Linked DNA regions of Homo sapiens: all the other regions are linked to region 3. The links are contacts of gene promoters, found by promoter capture Hi-C in human tissues and cell types (Jung and others, 2019). All regions are on one chromosome and are shown on one strand. The core of a region is centred on a gene start or on the middle of the fragment in contact, and the rest is flanking DNA. Distances in the headings are between cores, read along the strand shown. Region 1 overlaps LNX2 (ligand of numb-protein X 2). Region 2 overlaps GTF3A (general transcription factor IIIA). Region 3 holds the start of PDX1 (pancreatic and duodenal homeobox 1).

What was found. The method cuts DNA at HindIII sites, captures the fragments that hold promoters and counts their contacts. A contact is called where the count stands out against the background at its distance.
Region 1: a fragment that was not itself captured here is called in contact with the fragment with the promoter of PDX1 in region 3 in 1 of the 25 tissues and cell types used here (H1 embryonic stem cells).
Region 2: a contact is called between a fragment that was not itself captured here and the fragment with the promoter of PDX1 in region 3, in 1 of the 25 tissues and cell types used here (H1 embryonic stem cells).

The regions. Positions count from the first base shown.
Region 1 is chr13:27,614,620-27,617,961 of GRCh38, forward strand. All of the region lies in intron 1 of LNX2 (ligand of numb-protein X 2), which reads right to left. Among named protein-coding and RNA genes, the nearest start is that of LNX2, 4.2 kb to the right of the region's middle. The HindIII fragment of the contact is 4,182 bases long and covers 1-3,342 here.
Region 2 is chr13:27,434,817-27,438,105 of GRCh38, forward strand. It overlaps GTF3A (general transcription factor IIIA), which reads left to right. Exons shown (of 9, transcript NM_002097.3): 7 at 1-218; 8 at 317-376; 9 at 617-1,007. The coding sequence ends at 781. MTIF3 (mitochondrial translational initiation factor 3) reads right to left here. Exons shown (of 5, transcript NM_152912.5): 4 at 2,300-2,457; 5 at 827-1,077. The coding sequence ends at 859. Among named protein-coding and RNA genes, the nearest start is that of GTF3A, 12 kb to the left of the region's middle. RefSeq lists an enhancer at 1-868. The HindIII fragment of the contact is 5,770 bases long and covers 1-3,289 here.
Region 3 is chr13:27,918,656-27,922,136 of GRCh38, forward strand. It overlaps PDX1 (pancreatic and duodenal homeobox 1), which reads left to right and starts at 1,345. Exons shown (of 2, transcript NM_000209.4): 1 at 1,345-1,889. The coding sequence starts at 1,484. The HindIII fragment of the contact is 14,480 bases long and covers 1-3,481 here.

The sequences.
Region 1 (3,342 bases), core at 506-3,005, 300 kb before region 3:
CCTGCCTTGATAAATTGGCTCTATCTGGGCAGTAGGCAGGAAGAACCCATTGGGCAGCTAAAGAAGAAAAAGTCACAAAACTGAAATAAGATTTAAGTAAAGGTCTCCAATTTATGGGTTCAGTAATTATTTATTGGTCTAAATGATAAGGGTTCTCATAAACGATTAAGTCTTTAAGATTAGTAGCCGAAATCCCAACGGGGAAGGGGGTGGCAGGTATAAATATTTCCCAGACTTACCTTACTTTTATCTATAAAACAAAGTGATAGACAACAGAGCCTTGGAAACTGAGAGGAAATAAAAACACACTCAGGAGTGTTTTTTTCTATTCTCTTATTCAACACAACAGTCATCAACACAGAATACTTCTATGTCCAAATGTGGGCTCCCCCCGACACCCCAGTACACAAAGCAGTGGACACCAGCTGAGTGTCCTCTAGTTCAATTCAATTCTGACCTGGAGATAACCCCAGATCCCAAAGCTGAGGGCTCAGTCTCCAAGACCGCTCCCCTCTCCACCAGACACCAGTCGCAAGTGCAGGCCTCAGAAAATTCTAACTGACTGGCCTCAATTTGGGGTTCCCATAACCCCTCTTTGGGTTCAATTAACTTGCTAGAGCAGCTCACAGAACTCAGGGATACACTTACTTAGGTTTACCAGTTTATTATAAAAGATATTACAAAGGATATAGATGAAGAGATGCACAGGGCGAGGTACGGGGAAGGGGTGCGGAGCGTCCATGCCCTCTCTGGGGCGTGTTACCCTCCAGGAACCTCCATGTGATCAGCTGTCCAGAAGCTCTCTGAACCCTGTCCTCTTGGGCCTTTTATGAAGACTTCATAACATAGGTATGGTTGGTTAAATCATTGGCCATTGGTGATCAGCTTACCCTTCAGCTCCTCTGCCCTCCCTGGAGGGTGGTGGTGGGGCTGACAGTCCTAACCCTCTAATCCAGCCTTTCCAGTGCCCAGGGCCCATCCTGAAGCTACCTAGGGGCTGCCAGCTGTTCAGTCAACTCATCAGCATACAAAGACACTTAGCGCTTTGCAGATTCCAAGGAATTTGAGAGTTGTATGCCAGGAAACAGGGATAAAGACCATATATATATTTCACAACATCACAGAAGCTTAATCATAAGCCATCAATGTTGCAGTTCTTCTATATTCCTATAAGAACAGGGAACAGTTCAAGCTTCCTCACTGGATCAATTCTCTTTTGCTTTCCCTCTGACCAATGACTGTTTCAAAGATTTGGAGAAGTCTGTGAGCCAAGCCAGATCAAAGCCAATTTGGATCCAATTTGTTCATTAATGCATGCTGTCAACAAAAAGAGTCAAACTCTGCAACATATTTGAAGAGATTTATCGTGAGCCAAATCTGAGTGACCATGGCCCATGACACAGCCTTCAGGAGGTCCTAAGAACATGTGCCCAAGATGGTAGGGGTGCAGCTTGGTTTTATACATTTTAGGGAGGCATGAGACATCAATCAAAAAATTTTAAGAAATACATTGGTTTGGTCCAGAAAGGTGGGACAATTGCAGGGGGTCGGGGGTGGGGTGGGGGGTTGGGGGGGGTAGCAGGGAGTGCCATTCCAAGCCATAGGTAAATTTAAACATTTTCTGGTTGACAGTCGGTTGAGTTTGTCTAAAGCCCTGGGATCAACAGAAAGGAATGTCTGGGTTAAGACAAAGGATTGTGGAGACCCAAGTTCTTACTTTCAGAGGAAGCCTTCAGGTAGTAGGCTTCGATAGGTGGTAGTAAAACGTTTCTTATCGGACTTAAAGTCTATGTTAATGTTAATGTCAGAGAGGTATAACAAGTCATGTCCGACCTCCACTTCCCACTCATGGCCTGAAACTGTCTCTCAGGTTAAATTTTAAAAGACCCCTGGATGAGGAGGAAGTCCATTCAGATGGCTGGGGAGAGGGGGAAGCTTAGAATTTTATTTTTGGTTTACAATACATTAATATTTGTTTAAGTACTTAGGGATTCTGCAGTTAGCAAAATAGATAGGATCCCAGCTCTAGGAAGCACACATTCTAAAGGATAGAACCTACAACACCTGCTTCTTTAAAAGCATACTAACTAGAGGACAATTTATTATTGTAATGTCATGAGCACTTGCTTGTTAAAAAATTCCTTTTTTGAGATGGAGTCTAGCTCTATCACCCAGGCTGGAGCGCAGTGGCGCAATCTCAGCTCACTGAAACCTCTAGCTCCCGGGTTCAAGCGATTTCTCCTGCCTCAGCCTCCTGAGTAGCTGGGATTACAGGCACCTGCCACCACGCCCAGCTAATTTTCGTATTTTTAGTAGAGACAGGGTTTCACTGTGTTGGCCAGGCTGGTCTTGAACTCCTGACCTCGTGATCGCCCGCCTCAGCCTCCCAAAGTGCTAGAATTATAAGCGTGAGTCACTGCACCTGGCCAAAAAATTCCTCTTAATAACTTCTTAGAAGGCTAATACACAAAATAGCCACCTTTTCTGAATCCAACCAAACAAAATAACTTATTAACCACAGATTTTCCTACTGCTTTGTATTTTCTGAGGAAAAGAAACAGGTGCCAGGAAAGCTAAAAGGGATGTCTTTTGTAAGACTCTCAGGCCCTCCTACAGGGTCAATTTAGGTAGGCCTGCCCCAGTCTTCTAATTCTACATGCAAGATACATATGTATTACTTTTTCAAACAACACTGCTTCCTAAATAGAGGAGAACCTATGAAATGAGACCTGTGATTCTTTTTTAAAAACCTAGATGCATTTGGATAGAGGAAGGTGGGCCTGTGAACTCTAGCCCTGTAAGCAGGAAGGAAAGTTAAATAGTTCCTCATAATACAATTTAAAGATATCGGGTGGCAATTGTAAAGGAAAGAAAGAAGAGGGGAAGAAGGCCAAAGAGCCAACCAGATTACAAGAGCCTGGAGTCCTCCTTTCTTTGATGGTGGCCAAAATATATTTTAAGGATAGAAATGCCTAATATTCAATGTCAACACTTCTGATATCGCTCCACTGTGAACCCCTTCACCCTCCCCTTCCTCTAAATCTCTCATAAAGCTTACCATACTCATAAAGCCTTTCTGTGAACTCTTTTTCTTTTCTATTCTTTCCTAGCTCCTGTGAGACACAACTATCCAACAACTGCATCATGGATCTCTCAACCATCCATTTAGCACCTCCTTAGATTAGTCCAAAACTGAACTTATCTTCCCTTCTACACCTCTACCATCAATTGTTTTTAACTGCTCCTTCTCATATCCTCCAACATTCCACTAGCTCATTAATGTCATCATCTAAAGGAACAACTAATATTTACTGAGCACTTGGAATGTGCTAGGTACCCTGC
Region 2 (3,289 bases), core at 405-2,904, 480 kb before region 3:
GTGAAGTATGCCGGAAAACATTTAAACGCAAAGATTACCTTAAGCAACACATGAAAACTCATGCCCCAGAAAGGGATGTATGTCGCTGTCCAAGAGAAGGCTGTGGAAGAACCTATACAACTGTGTTTAATCTCCAAAGCCATATCCTCTCCTTCCATGAGGAAAGCCGCCCTTTTGTGTGTGAACATGCTGGCTGTGGCAAAACATTTGCAATGAAAGTAAGCACTCACCCTCATACTCATGGTCCTATAGTCTATGCTTTCACAACATGGTTTTCATATTAATATTTCATTAATAACTTTCTCTTTCATTGTAGCAAAGTCTCACTAGGCATGCTGTTGTACATGATCCTGACAAGAAGAAAATGAAGCTCAAAGTAAGTTGAAACTACTTAGGCAAGCTTAGTTTTCAAGTGGAAATTGTTTAAGGCCAGAAGGAGTCTGTTTGGAATTCTTTTCACCTGCTTTACTGTTTGAGTCTGCACTACTGTTGAAGACTTTACTTCCTCATAAAGCAATGTTGTACACTATATCTGCTGGTACATATGACTATCGTAAAATTAACTCAGACAGTTTTGATTTTGAATTCTAATCGTGTGTCTTCCTTATTCCCAAAGGTCAAAAAATCTCGTGAAAAACGGAGTTTGGCCTCTCATCTCAGTGGATATATCCCTCCCAAAAGGAAACAAGGGCAAGGCTTATCTTTGTGTCAAAACGGAGAGTCACCCAACTGTGTGGAAGACAAGATGCTCTCGACAGTTGCAGTACTTACCCTTGGCTAAGAACTGCACTGCTTTGTTTAAAGGACTGCAGACCAAGGAGCGAGCTTTCTCTCAGAGCATGCTTTTCTTTATTAAAATTACTGATGCAGAACATTTGATTCCTTATCATTTCCATGGTCTTTGTTCAAAGTGTCTCTTTCCTGGGTCTCTTGAGTTTCTTTATATGCCTTCTCCTCATTTTTGCTGAAAGCACGAAGAACACACATTAAAGCTTTTCCTCCTTGAACAGCTTGTGGCCTAGATGAGAATGTAGCTATTCCAGGCATAGTCTGGAGTATTTGATGAAATATCTCCTCCTAAAAAAGGGAAACAGCCAAAGATTAATTTAAAATCAGAGGCTTTGGTGCTTTCTAATGTTCTGCTTGAACATTCACAAAAACTGGCACCCTTGAATTGCTGCTGTCGGTTAAGTGATTAGCTAATCAGTTCATACGTATCTGGTTAAGTTGACTGAAATCTGTACAATAACACCATGTAACTAAACTGACATGCTGAATGCTTCCTAATTTTAAATCTCCACTTCGTCATGGCACGAAGAGGCTACGTTTGGCTCAGCATTACCCTCTCCCACAAACAGAAAGCACTGGGTTTGGGCATTGGCAAAATACCTCCTCATCCCCAAGGTGTCAGCCGAGCAGTTCTCAGCACTCTCTATTGCCCCTAACAGAGTCTCTCTCAGTGACTGAAACAAATGGATACCTGGGCTCAAGAAATTCTGCATCAGCTGGGTTGCGACCTATGCTTAAGTGACTCTACTGTGGAGCTGGATTACTAAGGATACCCTTAGTGGATGATAAAGTTATCTAACTTTTAAAAAAAAAAAGCAAAATAGGTATTCCATAAACTTATGGGATTGGAAACTACACACTTTCTAGAAGACAGTCTACGTAATTAATGCCCCTATAAGTACAAAGAAGAAACAAAAAATCTATAAAGTTTCTAATTTTCCTGTTTAAGGGTTATTCTACAATTTATAAAACAATAGTATATTGCTTTTAAGGAATAATGTGTTCATATGGCAAAATACGCTGTAATGGAAACTATATCTACAGTATGCTTAGTTTTGAAAAGCAAACTAGAAAGCTGTTAACATCACTGGGTGGAAGAATTACCAGTCACTTTGTCTTTATATTTCAGATTTTCTACAATTTTTTTTTTTTTTTTTTTTTTTTGAGACGGAGTCTTGCTCTGTCACCCAGGCTGGAGTGCAGTGGCGCGATCTCGGCTCACTGCAAGCTCCGCCTCCCGGGTTCACGCCATTCTCCTGCCTCAGCTTCCCCAGTAGCTGGGACTACAGGTGCCCGCCACCACGCCTGGCTAATTTTTTGTATTTTTAGTAGAGACGGGGTTTCACCATGTTAGCCAGGTTGGTCTCAATCTCCTGATCTCGTGATCCGCCCACCTTGGCCTCCCAAAATGCTGGGATTACAGGCGTGAGCCACCGCGCCTGGCCTACAATTGTATTTTTAGATCAGAAGACCCAAAGCACAAGCAGTGGCTTGTACCTTCTTTACTTACCATTTCATTTTCTGACACGTCTACATTTTTTCCTTTCTTTATGGTAATCTGGACTAGGTGTTTTTTCTTAATCCACTGCTGAATCTGTTTAGTCTTTGTGTCCAAATCATGTTGTCCAATATTTGAAGACAAAATCAGTTCCTTTCTCAGGGTTGGTCCTGGTTTGAAACAGATAGGGTGCAAGGACTACTGACTAGTCCACTGTGAACCCTGAACTTCCCAACATGCCCATCATAAAATCCTAGGTTGCCACCTGACAATCTTCTCATCTGGCTTTCAGTTTCACAGACCAGTAAATGTCTTTTCAAATGGGGAAGATACACATAAAGGTACCAATTTTTTACCTGCCCTGGAAGGGTACTTAAAATCTGAAATGCTTCCATTTATTGTTAACCATCGTTTGTTGAAAGAACACCAAAAGATAGTCGTTTAAAGGATCAAGTTTGGCTTCATGGTGCACTTAACATCCTTATCTATCAGCTGTGGGTTGGCATCTGGGAGTGCACTACCCACTCCTTTTGAGATGCTCTCCTTGCTATAAGGGGTCAGCCAGACTGTTGGACAGGTAAGGGTCCCTACATCCTGTGTTCATGCCCTCTGTCTCCAGAAATCCTGCCTACTGGAAAATTATAGAGAAGGAACCGGCCACTCAATAAAGGTGTTGGGACAATTGAGAAGTTTATAGATGACAAAAAGTTAGGTCTCCCCAGGTATACTAATGTTCTACAGGTGAAAAATACAACTTTAAAACAAACAGAAGAAAAGACAGAATGGTTTGTGATCTCAGGATAGGGGATGGAACTCATTAAGAAAAAAAGGCAAAATGAAAAATCTAACTGGGATACGGTTTTTTCCATCATACACAACAGAGAACCCTATAAATCGGAGAAAAACCATCTACGTAGAAAAATAAAGGAATATAAACACGCAATTCACAGAAGAAAAAAGTGAAATACACATTAATTTCTCACCATTAAAATGACAAATGAG
Region 3 (3,481 bases), core at 95-2,594:
GAAGAAAGAAATACATTAAGATTGACTCTCAAAGGTCTGGATGTTGGTGCGTTGTTTAGGAAAGGCGGAGCAGTGATTTTTCTCTGGCTTGGTTCTTTGTGGTTCAAGCTCTCTCTTGCTGAGACGTTTCTGCAAAGCTGTCTAGTTTTTCTAAAACCCACGGTGGCGTTTCGAGAAACGTCCTCATTTCGGGAGTATCCAGTCAGAGGCTGGTCAGGCCGCCAGGCCTAGCGGATCATGCCCAGGCAGGGGGTTGGACGTCACCGCCACCCGGAGGTCATCCATCCGCGTCAGTGGGTGCAGAAAAAGTGGCCCTGTTTAAGTCAGGACCCCAGAATGCCCAGAAGTTACTGAATGGTTTGAAGCCAAGCACAGATGTTATCATGGAAAATGCAGCGTTTTTATTTCTTTTTCTAAATATGTAACTCTTCCTCCACTTCCCCCTCTCCTGCTTGCCTTATTTCAATTGCAAGCAGAAGAGAGTGAGTGTTCTCTGCCGGCAAACTCCGCCAGGGTCCCGGCCCGTAGAGAGTCGTCAAGGGTCTGGAACCCCCGTGCCAACACCTGCCCCTGCTTCGCAGCCCCAAGAGGAAGGCCGCGTCTTTCCCCCTCGCTGTATTGGGAAGCTACGTTCCGGGCTGGCCAAATGGGCCCCAATTTTCCAAAACCCAAATTTGTAATACCCTTCAATTTTTTAAAAAAAAGAATTTAAAAAAGTCTCTGTGAATGCTTCAGAAGTTACCGTTTACACCCCAGAAGTACTTGCAGCACATCCACAAGTAAAAACACACAACGAATGCCAGAGTTTCGTGTGTTTTTTAACCGACATCTTTGTGGCTGTGAACAAACTTCATAAATAAAATAGAATCAAATGCTTCTGACCTAGAGAGCTGGGTCTGCAAACTTTTTTTTTATCGTATTCCGCAACAGTTAAATAAAAAATTAAAAACTCAACATGTCTCCTTGTAAACTACATCAATTAACAAACACACTATGTCCATTATCAAATATAATAGAAAAAATATAGGAAAATAGAAAATAGAAAAATATAGGAAAATAGAAACTTTTAAGCCACGGTGAAAATGTTTCTATAAATGAGTGGTTCTAATGTTTTCGTGAGCGCCCATTTTGGGGAGCACCGCCAGCTGCCCGTTCAGGAGTGTGCAGCAAACTCAGCTGAGAGAGAAAATTGGAACAAAAGCAGGTGCTCGCGGGTACCTGGGCCTAGCCTCTTAGTGCGGCCAGCCAGGCCAATCACGGCCCCCGGCTGAACCACGTGGGGCCCCGCGGAGCCTATGGTGCGGCGGCCGGCCCGCCGGTCCGCGCTGGCTGTGGGTTCCCTCTGAGATCAGTGCGGAGCTGTCAAAGCGAGCAGGGGTGGCGCCGGGAGTGGGAACGCCACACAGTGCCAAATCCCCGGCTCCAGCTCCCGACTCCCGGCTCCCGGCTCCCGGCTCCCGGTGCCCAATCCCGGGCCGCAGCCATGAACGGCGAGGAGCAGTACTACGCGGCCACGCAGCTTTACAAGGACCCATGCGCGTTCCAGCGAGGCCCGGCGCCGGAGTTCAGCGCCAGCCCCCCTGCGTGCCTGTACATGGGCCGCCAGCCCCCGCCGCCGCCGCCGCACCCGTTCCCTGGCGCCCTGGGCGCGCTGGAGCAGGGCAGCCCCCCGGACATCTCCCCGTACGAGGTGCCCCCCCTCGCCGACGACCCCGCGGTGGCGCACCTTCACCACCACCTCCCGGCTCAGCTCGCGCTCCCCCACCCGCCCGCCGGGCCCTTCCCGGAGGGAGCCGAGCCGGGCGTCCTGGAGGAGCCCAACCGCGTCCAGCTGCCTTTCCCATGGATGAAGTCTACCAAAGCTCACGCGTGGAAAGGCCAGTGGGCAGGTAAGCCTGGCTCCCCACCCCTTTCTCCTTTCCGGTTCTCACCCGGCCGCCTTACCTCCAAGCGCTCCCAGGAGCCTTCTCTCTGTTCCCGGCGCCTTGGATTATCCCGGGTCGGACTAAACTACATCAGGGAGCTACCGAGCCCATCCCTCACAGCAGTGCTTCTCTAGTCCAGTTTGAAGCATCTTTCCCACCCAGCTCTCCTGGGAGTGTACACTCCTTCCTTCCCTGTTCGCTGAGCCCATCTTCGCCCCAGGAGCCCGCGCTCCCAGCGCCATCCTTAGAGAGCCGAGGCTGAGTCCTGCTCAGGGCTTCGGACACTACAGATCCTCCTCCAGCAGGGGATCCGGGAACCCAGGACTCCTTGGTAGTGCACATCGAGGAAGCCGAGTAGGGACATGGGTGCCTCGGACCCAGGCCCCAGATCGCCTTCGGAGCCCCGGAGCCCCTCACTTCCCGCGCTTCGTTAAGGAAGGGCAGGCATCTAGGGGCGCCAGGTAGGTGCAGAAAGGCAGGGAGGGAAAGGAAACTGCACCCAACCCAGCAGTGTCCGGCTGCCCTGGTTGTGGAAACAGGATAGGAGTAAAGAGGAAGGGGCTGGGGCAAGGCGGGGGCTCACCGCGAGGCTGAAAGCCGGCCTCTCAACGTCAGAGCCTGGCAGCTAGGAGAGCAATCTGAGAAGCGAATTCGTTTTTCACCAACCGAAAGCAATTGAAGCTGTCTCCCCGCACCGCTTCCCAGGAAGTAATTTTTCAGGAGATGGGCGCTCCCTGCCTAGCTGGTGGGGAGGCGAGAGGCCTGGTTCCTGCGGCCCTCCGCGCCGGCAGAGAACAGAAGGTCTTTCCCGGAGCCGGGAGCCGGAGGCACGGGGTAGCCCCCGGGTCCTTTGCGGCCCCGCGCGAGCGGCAAGTTCCGGCGCGGCCTGTGTCGTCGCCGCTACTCACTGTCATCGCTGCCGTGCCTCAGCCACTTCTGGTCACACCTGCACCGCAAATAGTTGCCTTTTCCTTTCAACTGGCAGCCGGGAGTAGGGGGAAGCAGCTCGAGCCGGCGTCCCCCGGCCCACCCCGAAAATCCTCAGCGCCCATCTGCGGGGTCTGGCCAGCCCTGCCTGACACTGACCCCAGGCGCAGCCAGGAGGGGCTTTGTGCGGGAGAGGGAGGGGGACCCCAGCTTGCCTGGGGTCCACGGGACTCTCTTCTTCCTAGTTCACTTTCTTGCTAAGGCGAAGGTCCTGAGGCAGGACGAGGGCTGAACTGCGCTGCAATCGTCCCCACCTCCAGCGAAACCCAGTTGACAGGGGCGCCAGAAGCTGCCGCGGCGCCTCTGCAAATTTATCCAGCTCGCGCAGCCCGGGCCAAAGGCCTTGAAGTCTCCGGAAATGCGGGGTTCTTAGGAGGCGGGAGGACAGTCCCTCGAACAAAGGTGGGGGGCTCCTCGTCCTCACCCAGTTTTCTTCCAGGGCTGCCTCCCCTCCAGACCTCTCTTCTGGCCTCCTAGGCCCTCGGAGCTCCTGCTTTCCCACCCTGGGCCTTCCTCAGGAAATGGGCGACATCAGGGTCCCGAAAGAGGATTTGTGAGGTGGAGTAACT